Regions from separate parts of the Homo sapiens genome. Here regions 2, 3 and 4 are each linked to region 1. Evidence: promoter capture Hi-C in 16 types of primary human blood cells and fetal thymus (Javierre and others, 2016). All regions are on one chromosome and are shown on one strand. The core of a region is centred on a gene start or on the middle of the fragment in contact, and the rest is flanking DNA. Distances in the headings are between cores, read along the strand shown.

Region 1 (3,118 bases), core at 153-2,652:
CCCCCAATACATACATTAAATGTCAACAATAAAAATACTCTGTATGATATAGTCCCTCTCATAATCATGCGTATGTAGCAAAGATATACTCAAAGAGATGCATGAAAAAATAAAAATTTCTAGCACATTTTCCAGTAAGAAAAAAAAAAAAAACAAATGTCCACATGAATAGATAGAATGGACTGGTTGATCTAGATTAAAATATAAAGGAAAGAACATACAAAAAGATGTTTTTTTTTTTAAATATAGTTTTTAAAGTATGGTATTTGACTTTCCTGCAATAATTGGTACTTGTTATCACTCTCCCTCCTTGAAACATTCACCTGTTTTCCATGACACCACACTGGCTGGTTTCTCTCCTGCTTCTTTGGTCCCTCATTCTCAATCTCTTGAGGCCTCTTATTTCTTATTTGTCCTTCAGGGCCCTGTCCCTCTGCCTACTCCTCAGTACACTCTCCCTAGGTAATTTAATTTGTTTACAAGGCCTCAGTTACCATTTACAAGGTAACAGGGCATTTCGAAATCAGTTCTCCTCCTGAGCTATACACTTGACTATCCGTAGACCTACTGGAAATCCCAGATGCCTAAAAACATAATCCCATACTAAACTCGTTTCTTCCCTCTCAAATCTTTTTCCTGCTCTGAGATCGCATGTCAGTAAACTGGCATCATCAGCCATCCAGCTGTTGACTCCCCACTTCTCCCTGGATTAAACGAAACGTACAAGTTCTGGCCTGCATCTTTCCATAGAGGGGGATTCGGGAAAATTAAGAAGCCAGAAATTGCGCATATTGAAGGCACTTTCAAAAAGTCACTGTCCTCTACACAACGTGACTTTCTCCATTGTCTTCCAGGCACCTGCAGGAATCCAATTCCCATCATTCTTCTCTGGCGCGGCCCTCCTCCTCCCTAGACAGCAGGGCAGGGTAGGACTGGACCCAACACAGACCTAGGCACCGACCCTTACTTAGCTCAGCAGCCAAATGAAGGAGGAGGTCGCTCCACTTCTACCTTCAGGTAAGTTCCCCTCGCTGCACCCCGCAAAAAAACAAGTAACAACCTCTAGAGCGGCTACTGCACGCCAATACCCACCTCCTCCCCCCCAACCTCAGACCTCCACTAAATACCTAAGATCCTAGAGTCCCTGCCTGAAGGCACGCGAGACGCTGGGGGAAGGTGTCCGCGCTGGCTCCACATCCTCGCGCGGCAGAGGTAAGCCGCTTCCAGTCTTCCCAGGCCTTACCTGGGATCTGACATTTGTTTGCAACTCAGGGGCCGCGGTTTTCCAGAGGCCTTGCTTCCGGGCGAGGCTACCCCTACCCCAGAGAAGAAGCCGGTACGAAACTGCTCCGCCGTAGGACACACAGGGCGCCGCCATGTTAGCTGTGGGAGCTCCAGGACCGGAGGGGTGAGGGGGCGGGGCCTAGAGACGGCGCAGGCGCTAATGGCGCGGGGTTCCAGAGGCTGTCCTGTGCAAGAGCTTCTCGGGCCTTTGGATCAGGGGGCGTGTCCCGCGATCCGCGACAGCTCGTCGCTGATTGGGTGCATGGTGTCCGCGGGGCGTATCCGACTCCACCCCTGCTCGGTGTCGACCTCAAGAAGGATCGCTGGTGGGTCGTTTTTCTCGGCCTCTTTCTCTTCACGTCCTGAACTCAGTCTCTTCGGGACTCACTTCCACGCTCTCCTAGTCTCTTTGGCACTCACATCCACGTGGCGCTTTAGCCAGCCCTTCCTTCCCAGCCCCCTTGCTGCACCTCGAGCCGGCTCTTCCTCCACCTGGGCAGGGCGGCCGGGGCCCCAGATGCGCTCCAAGCCTTGATTCCTGTCTGCCTTATCCTAGTAGGGGTTTTCCCCTCCTCTAACTTTCCACGTTCGTCTGGTTCCAAGTCAAGACTCTCCTGCAGCAACTGTCAAGCCCCTCTCGGTTCCCTGGCACTCTCCTGCGTTGTTTCTTAACTGTATAATGCACAGGATAAACCTTAAACCGGTAAGGTCAAACACTACCTTTCTCGTTTTTGCACGCCCCTCCCTAAGCGTTGGTACTAAGCCTTACTTGAAACCCAATCAGAACTGATTAATTGTTGAATAGAGATGAGTATGTCTTGCTTTCTGAAACTTGCGTGCTCCTGGCAGTTAACTCCCAGGTTGCTTTCTACGAAACACATACTAAATGATGTAGTAACGCACTTTAAAAGGGTTTACACACACTTAGATTTGAAGGGTCAGTAAAAGTAAAACACACAGAAAATCTGAGATCATACAAAGTTGTCAAGCAAATAAATGCCGTCTACTATCACCATCATTTCACGAAACAGAACTTTTTAGCATTAAAAAGGTAGAATGGCAGAATTTCACAATAAAGAAAAATCTTTTAAATGGAATACATTTACTTGTATAAAATGCTCATCCTGTTGTTCTTTTTGTTATTAGCTTTTAGACTAGCAAAAGATATCTTGAGAAATTGGCAGAGGTCGGAGGACTAAACTCTGATTTTTTTATCTTGCCCAAGATTCCTATCTACAGGATTTGGGGAGTCATGCCCTACAAATCATAAATTCTTATTAGATGGGTTTTACTTAACCCTATATATGGTGACTTACTTTCCAACCTGACTCTGGCATAACATTACAAGACAAGGAAGAAAATCAAAATATTTTACCCCAAAACATGTTTCTTTGCCATATCTTGAAATGGCCCTGCAAAGCTGTCCTTGGAGGGGTGGGATATGCATCTGTAAAGAATCTGTATTAACATAGCTAGATCTTTTTCTTCCAGACCCTCCCAATCCTAAAGAGATTAACTAAGATCTGAATAGGAAACATTTGTCATCCATTGTCTCTAAGGGCAGCCACTGTAAGACTTACAGAGAACTTTGGTCTCCACAATCTTTATCTTAAACTGAACATTCCCTTTCTATCAGTCCCAGGTCTTTCTGGACCAAACCAATGTATTTCTTAAATGTGTTTGATTGATGTCTCATGCCTCCCTAAAATGTATAAAATCAAGTTGCGCCCTGACCACCTTGGGCACAAATTCTCAGGACCTGCTGAGGACTGTGTCATGGGCCATGATCACTCATATTTGTCTCAGAATAAATCTCTTCAAAATATTTTACAGA
Region 2 (3,198 bases), core at 106-2,605, 1.1 Mb before region 1:
TTATTGTGGCAGCTTGATGCTGTTCTGTGATTTTGCAACCGTGTCTCAAAAAATTACTCCCTTATTTAAGAGGACATGCAGTCTGTTACTGTTGGTCCATTTTTGATGTATTAAAACAAATTCTACCTCAAAGGCAAAATGGATTTAGACTTTTACATGACTTTTCAGGTAAGCGTTTTTTAGAGAAAGGGAAGTGATTGCCTTTGGGAGATAGAGATGAGTACAAACATCCTCTCACTGGCACAGGTGCTGAAAAGAACAATGGCCACCAATCGGATGCTAGGCCACGTGCACAGATGGAGACGTTGCACACCCACCCAGCTGAAGGCTAGCACCTATGCTCAGTTATGCACCTCCTATTTAAATACATGTAGATACAGCCAGACCGTTGTAACATGGGCTGTGGGGGAGGGGATGGGAGGTTACTTACTTTGGATTTGAAGCCAACTTAGGGAGTCCTGGGAAGCCCTTGAGTTGCTGTCTTTCTGCCTGAGTCCACAGTGTCTACAGACGTGGATGTAGGTTGACTCACAGCCTGCAATTTATGTGCTGCAGCTGATAACATGAGTATACACAGTAATTGCAGAAACAAGATGTTAAGCTTTTGTGGGCCATGCTTAGGGGATTGTTCCTAAAAAGAGATGGATAGTGTTGATCTGTTTTTATGAGCCTGAAACACCTTTTACATTCTTCCTAGTAGGATGGGTGAGCAAAAACATTAATTGTCTCAGAAACCGAGGCATTTATGGAGTAAGAGTTCAAATGGACAGTTTATCTGTTCAATTCTAGCATTGTGATGCAAGTGGTGTATCTTAATTTCAAACTGGAAGTTAATTTGTAGAAGAAATTAAAACCTGTTTTGCCTTATCTGAAACATCAGAATGGGGTGAAAGGGGTTGAGAACTGTGTTTTTGCTTTAAAACTGATTTTTGTTATTATTGTTCTAGATGGTTGAACCACTAAGAGAGAAAATCAGAGATTTAGAAAAAAGGTATGTGTACTTTTTGTCTTAAAGTCAATAGTTAAAATAAGTTTGTCTCAATTGAGTAATTAATTCTGTTTGTTTGCTCCAAACTCTGCCAACCTAAATAAATGTCTGTATACGCATTTCCCCCACTTTGAGTGTAATACCCAGATAGAACATGGGGAGAAGAATCAATCTAGATGTGTTAAGATCTTCCTTCTTCAAACTCTGAACGTCTGAATTTCTGCAAATTTATTACATAGAAGTTGAGGCCAGGCCTCACATTTTCCTTGAACTTCTGCATATATTGATCAGTGGGATAGAATTCCAAAATAGGAGGACAATCCAGTGGGCCTGAAATGTACCATATGCAAACACCACAAAATAAGGATGTGGAGCCTATGGTGTGTCATGTGTAGTCATTTAGCTGCTTTTGTCACCAGAGTTCATGAGGAGGTTTCCAGAATTTAGTCCAGGTGAAGTGAGAGGGCAGAAGAATTATGTAATATGATAGAAATGTTTATTTGAGTCAGATTTCGGAGAGAACCCCTCCTCACCCTTTGGGACACTATTGCCCTCAGGTTCTCTCTCAGGCACTCCCGAGGCCGCTGAGCCTCAGCCTCCAGGACTTTCCTCTTGCACGTACTGTATGTGGAAAACTATCTAGAGTAGCAGTTGAATCTTCAGAAATTTTAGAAAGAAAAATGACAGCATTTATTAAAGTTGATGTGATTTTTTCCCCTTATTGGGATGAGTTTGGACGATGTGTGTCAGCATTGAATGAGCCTTTTATCAAGTCCAGAACAAAAATGAAAAAATGAAGAGCAGTTTTCCTTTGATTTTCATTAAATGATCGAAGGGAAATACGACTGGAGAAGAGTCATTAAACAAAATGTGTCATTCACTTGATTCTTATCCTCAACTGAGCAGTCAAGCAAACTGTTAATTTCAGCACTTATCAGAACAAAAGTTGTCAGTAATTTTTAACAGATTCCTTAGTAATATAAGGTTGTTACTTGTGCTTTAAATTTTTTTTGCCATGATTCTGTGCTTTAGTTATGCAGCTTGTAATATTTCCTTGGATGGGAGCCAGAAAATCTGCCTTTGATAAGACAGCAGAATTGAGAGATCTTAATTGAAGCTTTTTTTTTCTTTTTAGAAAAATTGGAACAATAAGAAATAACCCACCACACATTTTCTATATTGGTCTAAAAACTTGTCCACCAGTGATTATTTTCTTTAGACAATAGAATTTATTTATGAAAAGAAAAATGTCTCAATTCGATAACTTCCCTAAGGCAATAGCTTACAAACAAGAGCTCTCAACATGTGAGAATTATGCAATCTCTTTGATACTTTTGTGATATCTTTGAGTGTGTGCTTTTAAACTGGATGGAGAAGCACAAATAAGAATTCAATCCTAAGAATTTACTAATAATTTATTCTTGTCAACCTGTGAAACCGCCTTGAAAATAGTGGCAAAGGGCAAACATTTGCCTCTCGGGCTGCTTGCAGGTGACTCATTCTGGAATGGTTCCGTCCTTCAGGTTGGTCAGCAAGTCAGGTGATCCGCGTGCCTGCATTACTGTGTCAGAAGGTCAAGCGTAGGCCTGGCTAAAAAAGCGTGACGGTGGAAATTGATGGAACTCCGTCTAGCTTACTTTTCCTGACTCAGTGTGTGATAAAGATGATCAAACAACCATCTTGACACTGACAAGATAAGAATGTAACTGGAAATAGGTTTACTTGACGTGCTTGTCACTTTGAGCAAAGTGGCCCCCAAGAACTAAAGATATTTTTGGAAGTTACAGGTTATATTTGTACAGGGAAAGAAAGAAGACAGTGTCATTCTAGAATCCTGAGTAAATGGATTGTATGTGGGCTTTTTCTCTTTTACCACACTCCCATTGCTTAATACTTTGATTATATGCCATTTGTTTAATTTTAACTCTGTATCTTTAAATGTTCTTTGAATAGATGGCAAATGATAATTTAAATTCTAAGTAAGAATACTGCTTACTGGCTAAACAGTAAGTTTAATCTGGAATGGCATAAAATATTAATGATTAGTAAAGGACTAATTTGGGGTTGTAAGGAAAGATTTGTTACCTCATTCTGCCTCTGCTTGCTGGTTTCTCTCTCGCTTAGGAATGCAGGCCTCATGCCTCTGCTGCATTTTGCTGCTTAACCCCCAGTGCCTAGTGTAGAACGGAGCTTAATGGAAAGTTCCTGAA
Region 3 (3,196 bases), core at 213-2,712, 1.2 Mb before region 1:
CCATTTCTTGTTTTTAAAGGCCACCCTGCCTGCCTAAAATAATTGAAAAAATTAAATTGCTAGACTGGCATTAGGAGAATGAACACACTGAAAAGGATACAAGGCTCACGTGGGTAGGTTTCAAATACTGGCTCTCACATGGGAGAGACGTGAAATGGAGGAATACACCAGTGACTAGGAAGACATTTGGGGAAATTAAAAATTTTAAAGTATTTTCAAGAATGAAGAGAAAAAATAAAGATGTAATATTGGAGAGGTCATGAAAAGGAAAATCATCAAAGGGAAAGGACCAGGGCAAAGGTCACAATGTGAAAATTTACCTCTAAGAAGACATGAATATATGTGAATGAAACTGGTACATATATGAGAAATAATAACATTATATATGGAATTTTTCTCCCAATGGCTTCTCATAGTTTTCTAAAAATATTATTCATTCAAGGTCATCTGCATTCGACATTATCAAAGTTCTGTCCCTCACTGACCAGTCACCTCCTGCACTGAGCCTATCTGTCTGCAGCTCACCTGGATTTGGGCTCTGGGGAAATCCTTCCTTCCCTCCACAGCACTGCTCCTTGTTTCAACTGGGAAATCATGAATGACTTGCAGAGCTGATGCTCTCTGGGCAAAGTTGCATGGATTTTGAATTCTGTGTGAGAACTGTGCGTGATCTTCAGATCTAAGGCAGGCTCCCAACAAGACAAGGCGAGCATGGAAGGGCACCCGGGGAAGAGCACCTTGAACACCAAGGACATTGAGGGCCCTTCCCTGGAGCAGGAAGGAAAACCCCTGACACCAAGCCCCTGAGTCTCAGCAGCAGTGAAGATTTAAATGTTTCCACAGTGGGTTGTGGAATTTATTCTCATAATTAATGCAATAAAATTAAGATCCATTGGAACAATCTAGGTTCTATTTGGAAAAGAAAATGGCTATATTTTTATTACTATGGTCTCAAACCCTAGCTTAGTGCTTAAAACAGTATTGTCACTTAGTAAAAAATTTAATCCATTTATTTATTCAAAAAAATAGTCATTGAGGTCCCAGCACTGTTCTCAATATTGGAGATGGAGTAGTAATAAAGACACAAAACTGTGGTCAGGAAGACGTGTTCTAGTGGTTGATAAACTAGATTTAAGTAAACAAACAATGTTCAGGCAGTTGTAAGTGCTGTGAAAGAAAACAGATGAGGATAGAGACAAAGTAGCGTACGTGGAAGCTGCCTGGCCTGACAGGCTGAGCACCTGGTGAAACCCTACCTCCATACCCGACCTTCAGCACCTGCTGTCACACATCCCTGTCACCTGTGGTCACCACACACCTAAGACCCCTGCAGCCACTGACATGGTTAACTGAGTGACTCATTTCCCTATCACGGCAATGGATGGATGAGAAAATGACAACCCTTCACTTATGTTCCCTGAAAGGACATCCTCAATGGAGAATGAAAAAATTAATGTACATGTTGGGAAGGACATGATCTCATGATCAGTTCTTCACCTGCTATGAGGATTCCAGAGTTCTGGAAAAACAGAACTTGCATGAACACTTCCCGGACGCCCTTACTAATATAAGATCCAGGCCAAGAGGAGAAATGTGCTCGTCTGCTGGCAAAGGGTAATCAACTCAGGAGAAAAAGCAAGTCCCCACGCACCCGTGGGTTCCTTGTCAGGAACTCGGCTGCCACCTGTCTTCCTCCACATTCTCCCTCAGGATAGTCTGAAAACTAAGCAGACAAAGCTGAAGAAGGATAAAGAAACCATGAGACCCTGGTCTTATTCACCCCTTCATGGACCTCCAAGCCTTCATCTGGGAGTGAGTGACACCAGCTCCAACCCACATGTACCTGCAGGGTGATCTAAGACAAACAGGAGGAACCCTTTTTTCCCAGATCACAAGGAAGAAGGCTTTGGCTACAGCAACTCATAAGGAACATGTGAAAATCCTCATTTTATAGAAAAATAAGAGGACAATTATAGTGTTGTATGCTTTGCTTAGACCTGGTTTTCAGGGATATCATATAATTCCCTCCCTGATGGCAACTCCTAGGAGGACCTGACTCATGTCACATGGTGATTCTTCTTTGCACAACCAAGAACAAAACTTTGTGACTTAATACTTCTTGGTTAGGTGCATTAGCATTCTTTCCCTAACACTCACCCAGCCCTGCAGAACAACAACCTCCCTGCTGTGCCCTGCCCTCATCCTCCCTGTCCTGTCCCACCCTACCCCCTTCCTCTCCATCCTGCCCTGTCCCCCACCCCCACGCTCCCCCTGCCCCCACCCTCCAATGCACTTGCCCTCAATCATCTTGAGTCTGCAATGTCTGGGTTCAGGCAGCACCAGAGCCTCAATCCTAGCTCCATGCCCCAAGGCCTGAACATGCAGCCAAGCACCTTTGGAATCTGTTTAACAGTGGACAAAACTCATCCCCTGTTCAAAGCCTCATCCCCTATTGGAGGGTTCAGTGGCTCACCATGTTTAGCAACAAAATCTCTTTTACCAAAAAGAAGCGGGCGTGAGCCCTTTCTAATGCTACTGCTGTGTCTCACAGTCACCCTAAGGCAGTGGATCTCATAGAACACAGAAGGAAGGAGCTTAGTTTTGGGGGACAATTGACTCCTTTGGAAATCTTAGTGAAATGGTAGCTGGAGTTTTGCCTTAGTAATTAGCATTGGCAGGAACACCTCAGCATTTCATAATTTATGTATTTGAAAGCATTTGTCAATAGTAGACTATTTTCTAGAACAATGTTAATAATTGGATGTATTGCATGGATGGATAGTGATAATGAGTAATGAACAGGGTAAGAAGACAACTCCTTGAGTGAGGTCCCCAAAAGAGAAAAAAATTCCCATAGCATGAGCTGAGAGTCTGCGAATCACTTACTTGCATTTGCTTATTTAATCCTCACAATAATTGTGCTATTTATGGATCAGCTGTCCGTATAACAAGTGATGTGAAGTTAAGTTCTAAAAGCTTAATGAATGTGACCAAGTCACATGCTACAAAATGACAGAGCTAGAATTTAAACCAAGCTCTGCCTATCTCTGTCTCAAATTTCTACATGTGTTTGTCTTGAGAGAGGTGGACACCAGAGCCAGGTTTTACTGGGATATGTCTCCTGTCTGACCAGCGAGGAGAGGCTTTTCCTTGTTATCACAGCCTTGTCTTTTCAGTGTGTACACACAGTCACTAC
Region 4 (2,853 bases), core at 285-2,784, 1.5 Mb before region 1:
AAGTGTTGCTCTCTTGCTTCCTTCTTATTTCTCATGCTGTCTGGGAGTTTTCATAAATTTGAGCTAGCTTGAAATCATGTACATCGTGTTTATGTGCAGAAAAAAACCTACACTGTATCGATAACTTAGTTTACAGTTTACACAGATACTTTCACATTCTTTCTTTATCTGAATTCAAATCTGCCCATACACTTGTCTCTCCGTCAAGCCTAATATTTAAAGGTCAATTTACAAACAGCGTGTGTAATCTTATGAATTCTTGCCACATGGTGCCATCTGAGTCCATCTCCCAATCATCTTTGAAAATCTAAGAGAAATTCCAGATTGTTTGACTTTTAGTCTGATAATAGATGATCTCTAAACAGTTTACAACATAGTCATTTTGAGATTGAAAATATCAATCTCATTTTTTTGTTTCACAATGGCTGCTGCCTTAAAAACCAATCCAGTTTGCTGTATTTATTGTCTTATTTGCTATAAATCTAGAGCCAATTATAGCAGTTTCTCATACATTGCCCATAAAAAATGCTATACTATTTCAGCTTTTCAAGTGATGGATACTCTCATAAGAAAATTAGAAAGCTTCCAACAATGGGTCTCATAGATGACTACTACTTTGTCCTCATTTCCAAATGACACAGTCATCTAAGGAATTAAAGGAACTGGAAGTGGAGTGAGTTTTTATGTGCATGATGAAGAATGTTACTTTCAAAGTACAGATGCAACCCAACTTACACAATGGGGTTACATCCCGATAAACCCATGGTTAAGTTGAAACTATCCAAGTCAAAAATGCATTTAACACACCTAACCTATAGAATATCATAGCTTAGCCTAGCCCACCTTAAACATGCTCAGAACACGTACATTAGCCTACAGTGAGGTAACATCATCTGAAATCATAGCACCCTGTACATTATCAGCTATTTGCCCTCATGATCATATAGCTGACTGGGACATCTGGCTCATTGCCCTGCCCACCATTCTGAGTATTGTTCCACATATCCCTAGCCCCAGAAAAGATGGAAATTACAAATTTGAAGTACTATTTTTACTAAATGCATATTGCTTTTGCACCATCATAAAGTCAAAAAAGCCTAAATTGAACCACTGTAACCGTCTGTAGTTGGTAGCTGATTGGCGAGGCAAGACAACAAAGACATATGTCTAAATAAACATGATGTTTTCTGAAGCGTTCCTATCTATCTTTTCAAAATATTTAGCAAAGCATCATATATGCATTAAACACTCTGCTGGATGCTGAGAAAACAAAGAGAAAAAGTCTTGGCTTTTGCTGTCAAACAGGGAAGTTGTTTCAGAAAGGGAAATGCACGTGCAAAGTGACATAGGAATGAAATCGCGATCTTCAAATCAGACTTCCATTCTGCTGGGGGGTAAAGAGGAGGGCAGGAGTAGTAAAGATGAGGCCAAGCAGGTGGGCAGGAGATTGGGAAAGTCAATCCCGTGTGCCCTGGGACGAGCCTGGTTGATATGCTCCTGGCGCTGAGCGGCCACAGAATATGTGCGAGAGTGGCCAGCTTTTTACCTGAGAAAGTCACCGTAACTACGATGTGGAGTGAAGCAAGATGCTTGGTGTATGCCCATTGTATGTCCAGAGGATAAGTGGCACGAAGGTGGGAGAGAGACATGGGACCTGTGAGGCATATCAGGCAGGCTGGAGGGACAATCAGATTCGTAGATTCAGAAAGAGCCAAATCCAGGATAAGGCTCAGGTTTCTGACTTGGGTAAGAGGTGCATGGTGAGGTGCTTCGTAGAAATGGAGAGAGGAGAAGGAGCCGGTTAAGGACAAGTCAATGTGTTCAGCCCTTGCCACCCTGAGCTACACATGCCCCAGGGGCTTTTGAGTCCATGACATCCATGACACGCGGGGGCTCAGGAGAAATGTCTACGTGGAAAATGTAGAACCTCCCTCTGTAGAAAGAGGAGAGGAGAGAGGGCTGAAGACACAGCCCATCGTTCACAGGTGCCCACAAAGGAAACTGAGTGAGGGACACCCTAGGAAGAGGAGGAGGTCATGGACTAAACCTTGCCAATCATGCTGCAAACACCACATGCCCATCATCAGGCTTCACCCATCATCCGTGAATGAACCAATCTTTTTCTCTTACACTTCAATCCACTTTTTCTTCCCCAGATTGGAAATAACTCCCAGACATCAGAGCTTTTGAGAGGTGAGGCCAGCTGGACTTCCTGGGTCCAGTGGGGACTTGGGGAACTTTACTGTCTTACAAGAGGATTGTAAAACGCACCAGTAAGTGCTGAGTAAAATGCACCAATCAGCGCTCTGTAAAATGCACGAATCAGCAGGATTCTAAAAGTAGCCAATCCTAGGGAGGATTGAAAAAAGGGCACTCTGATAGAAGGGAAATGGAACATGGGAGGGGACAATAAGGGGATAAAAGCTGGCCACCCCAGCCAGCAGTGGCAACGTGCTAGGGTCCCCTTCCATGCTGTGGAAGCTTTGTCCTTTCGCTCTTCACAATAAACCTTGCTACCACTGACTCTTTGGGTCCATGCCATCTTTAAGAGCTGTAACACTCGAAGGTCCACGGCTTCATTCTTGAAGTCTGCCAGACCACCAACCCACCAGCAGGAACCAGCTCCGGACACACTTTCATCTCTAAACGCAGGCGTGTGCGGCTCCAGAAGACAGGACTCTCTTTTAAAAAACACAACCTTAGGCCGGGCGCGGAGGCTCACGCCTGTAATCCTAGCACTTGCGGAGGCCGAGGCAGGTGAATCATGAGGTCAGCTTGGCCAACATGGTGAAACCCTATCTCTACTAAAAACACAAAAAAATTATCTGGGCATAGTGGCGGGCACCTGTAATC

What was found. Contacts are between HindIII fragments. The CHiCAGO score rates a contact against its expected background, and 5 or more counts as called.
Region 2: a fragment that was not itself captured here is called in contact with the fragment with the promoter of MRPS9 in region 1 in 1 of 17 cell types (total CD8 T cells); the score reaches 5.3 in total CD8 T cells.
Region 3: a contact is called between a fragment that was not itself captured here and the fragment with the promoter of MRPS9 in region 1, in 1 of 17 cell types (naive CD8 T cells). The highest score is 5.0, in naive CD8 T cells.
Region 4: a contact is called between a fragment that was not itself captured here and the fragment with the promoter of MRPS9 in region 1, in 1 of 17 cell types (activated CD4 T cells). The highest score is 5.1, in activated CD4 T cells.

The regions. Positions count from the first base shown.
Region 1 is chr2:105,036,353-105,039,470 of GRCh38, reverse strand. MRPS9 (mitochondrial ribosomal protein S9) reads right to left here and starts at 1,402. Exons shown (of 11, transcript NM_182640.3): 1 at 1,244-1,402. The coding sequence starts at 1,378. MRPS9-AS2 (MRPS9 antisense RNA 2) reads left to right here and starts at 975. Exons shown (of 3, transcript NR_110603.1): 1 at 975-1,017. RefSeq lists enhancers at 420-1,362, 1,116-1,445, 1,616-1,665, 1,716-1,765, 1,786-1,995. The HindIII fragment of the contact is 6,591 bases long and covers 1-3,118 here.
Region 2 is chr2:106,161,460-106,164,657 of GRCh38, reverse strand. It overlaps UXS1 (UDP-glucuronate decarboxylase 1), which reads left to right. Exons shown (of 15, transcript NM_001253875.2): 4 at 948-991. Among named protein-coding and RNA genes, the nearest start is that of UXS1, 31 kb to the left of the region's middle. The HindIII fragment of the contact is 1,504 bases long and covers 604-2,107 here.
Region 3 is chr2:106,203,683-106,206,878 of GRCh38, reverse strand. No RefSeq gene overlaps it. Among named protein-coding and RNA genes, the nearest start is that of UXS1, 11 kb to the right of the region's middle. The HindIII fragment of the contact is 3,032 bases long and covers 1-2,978 here.
Region 4 is chr2:106,576,924-106,579,776 of GRCh38, reverse strand. No RefSeq gene overlaps it. Among named protein-coding and RNA genes, the nearest start is that of CD8B2, 91 kb to the right of the region's middle. The HindIII fragment of the contact is 1,899 bases long and covers 585-2,483 here.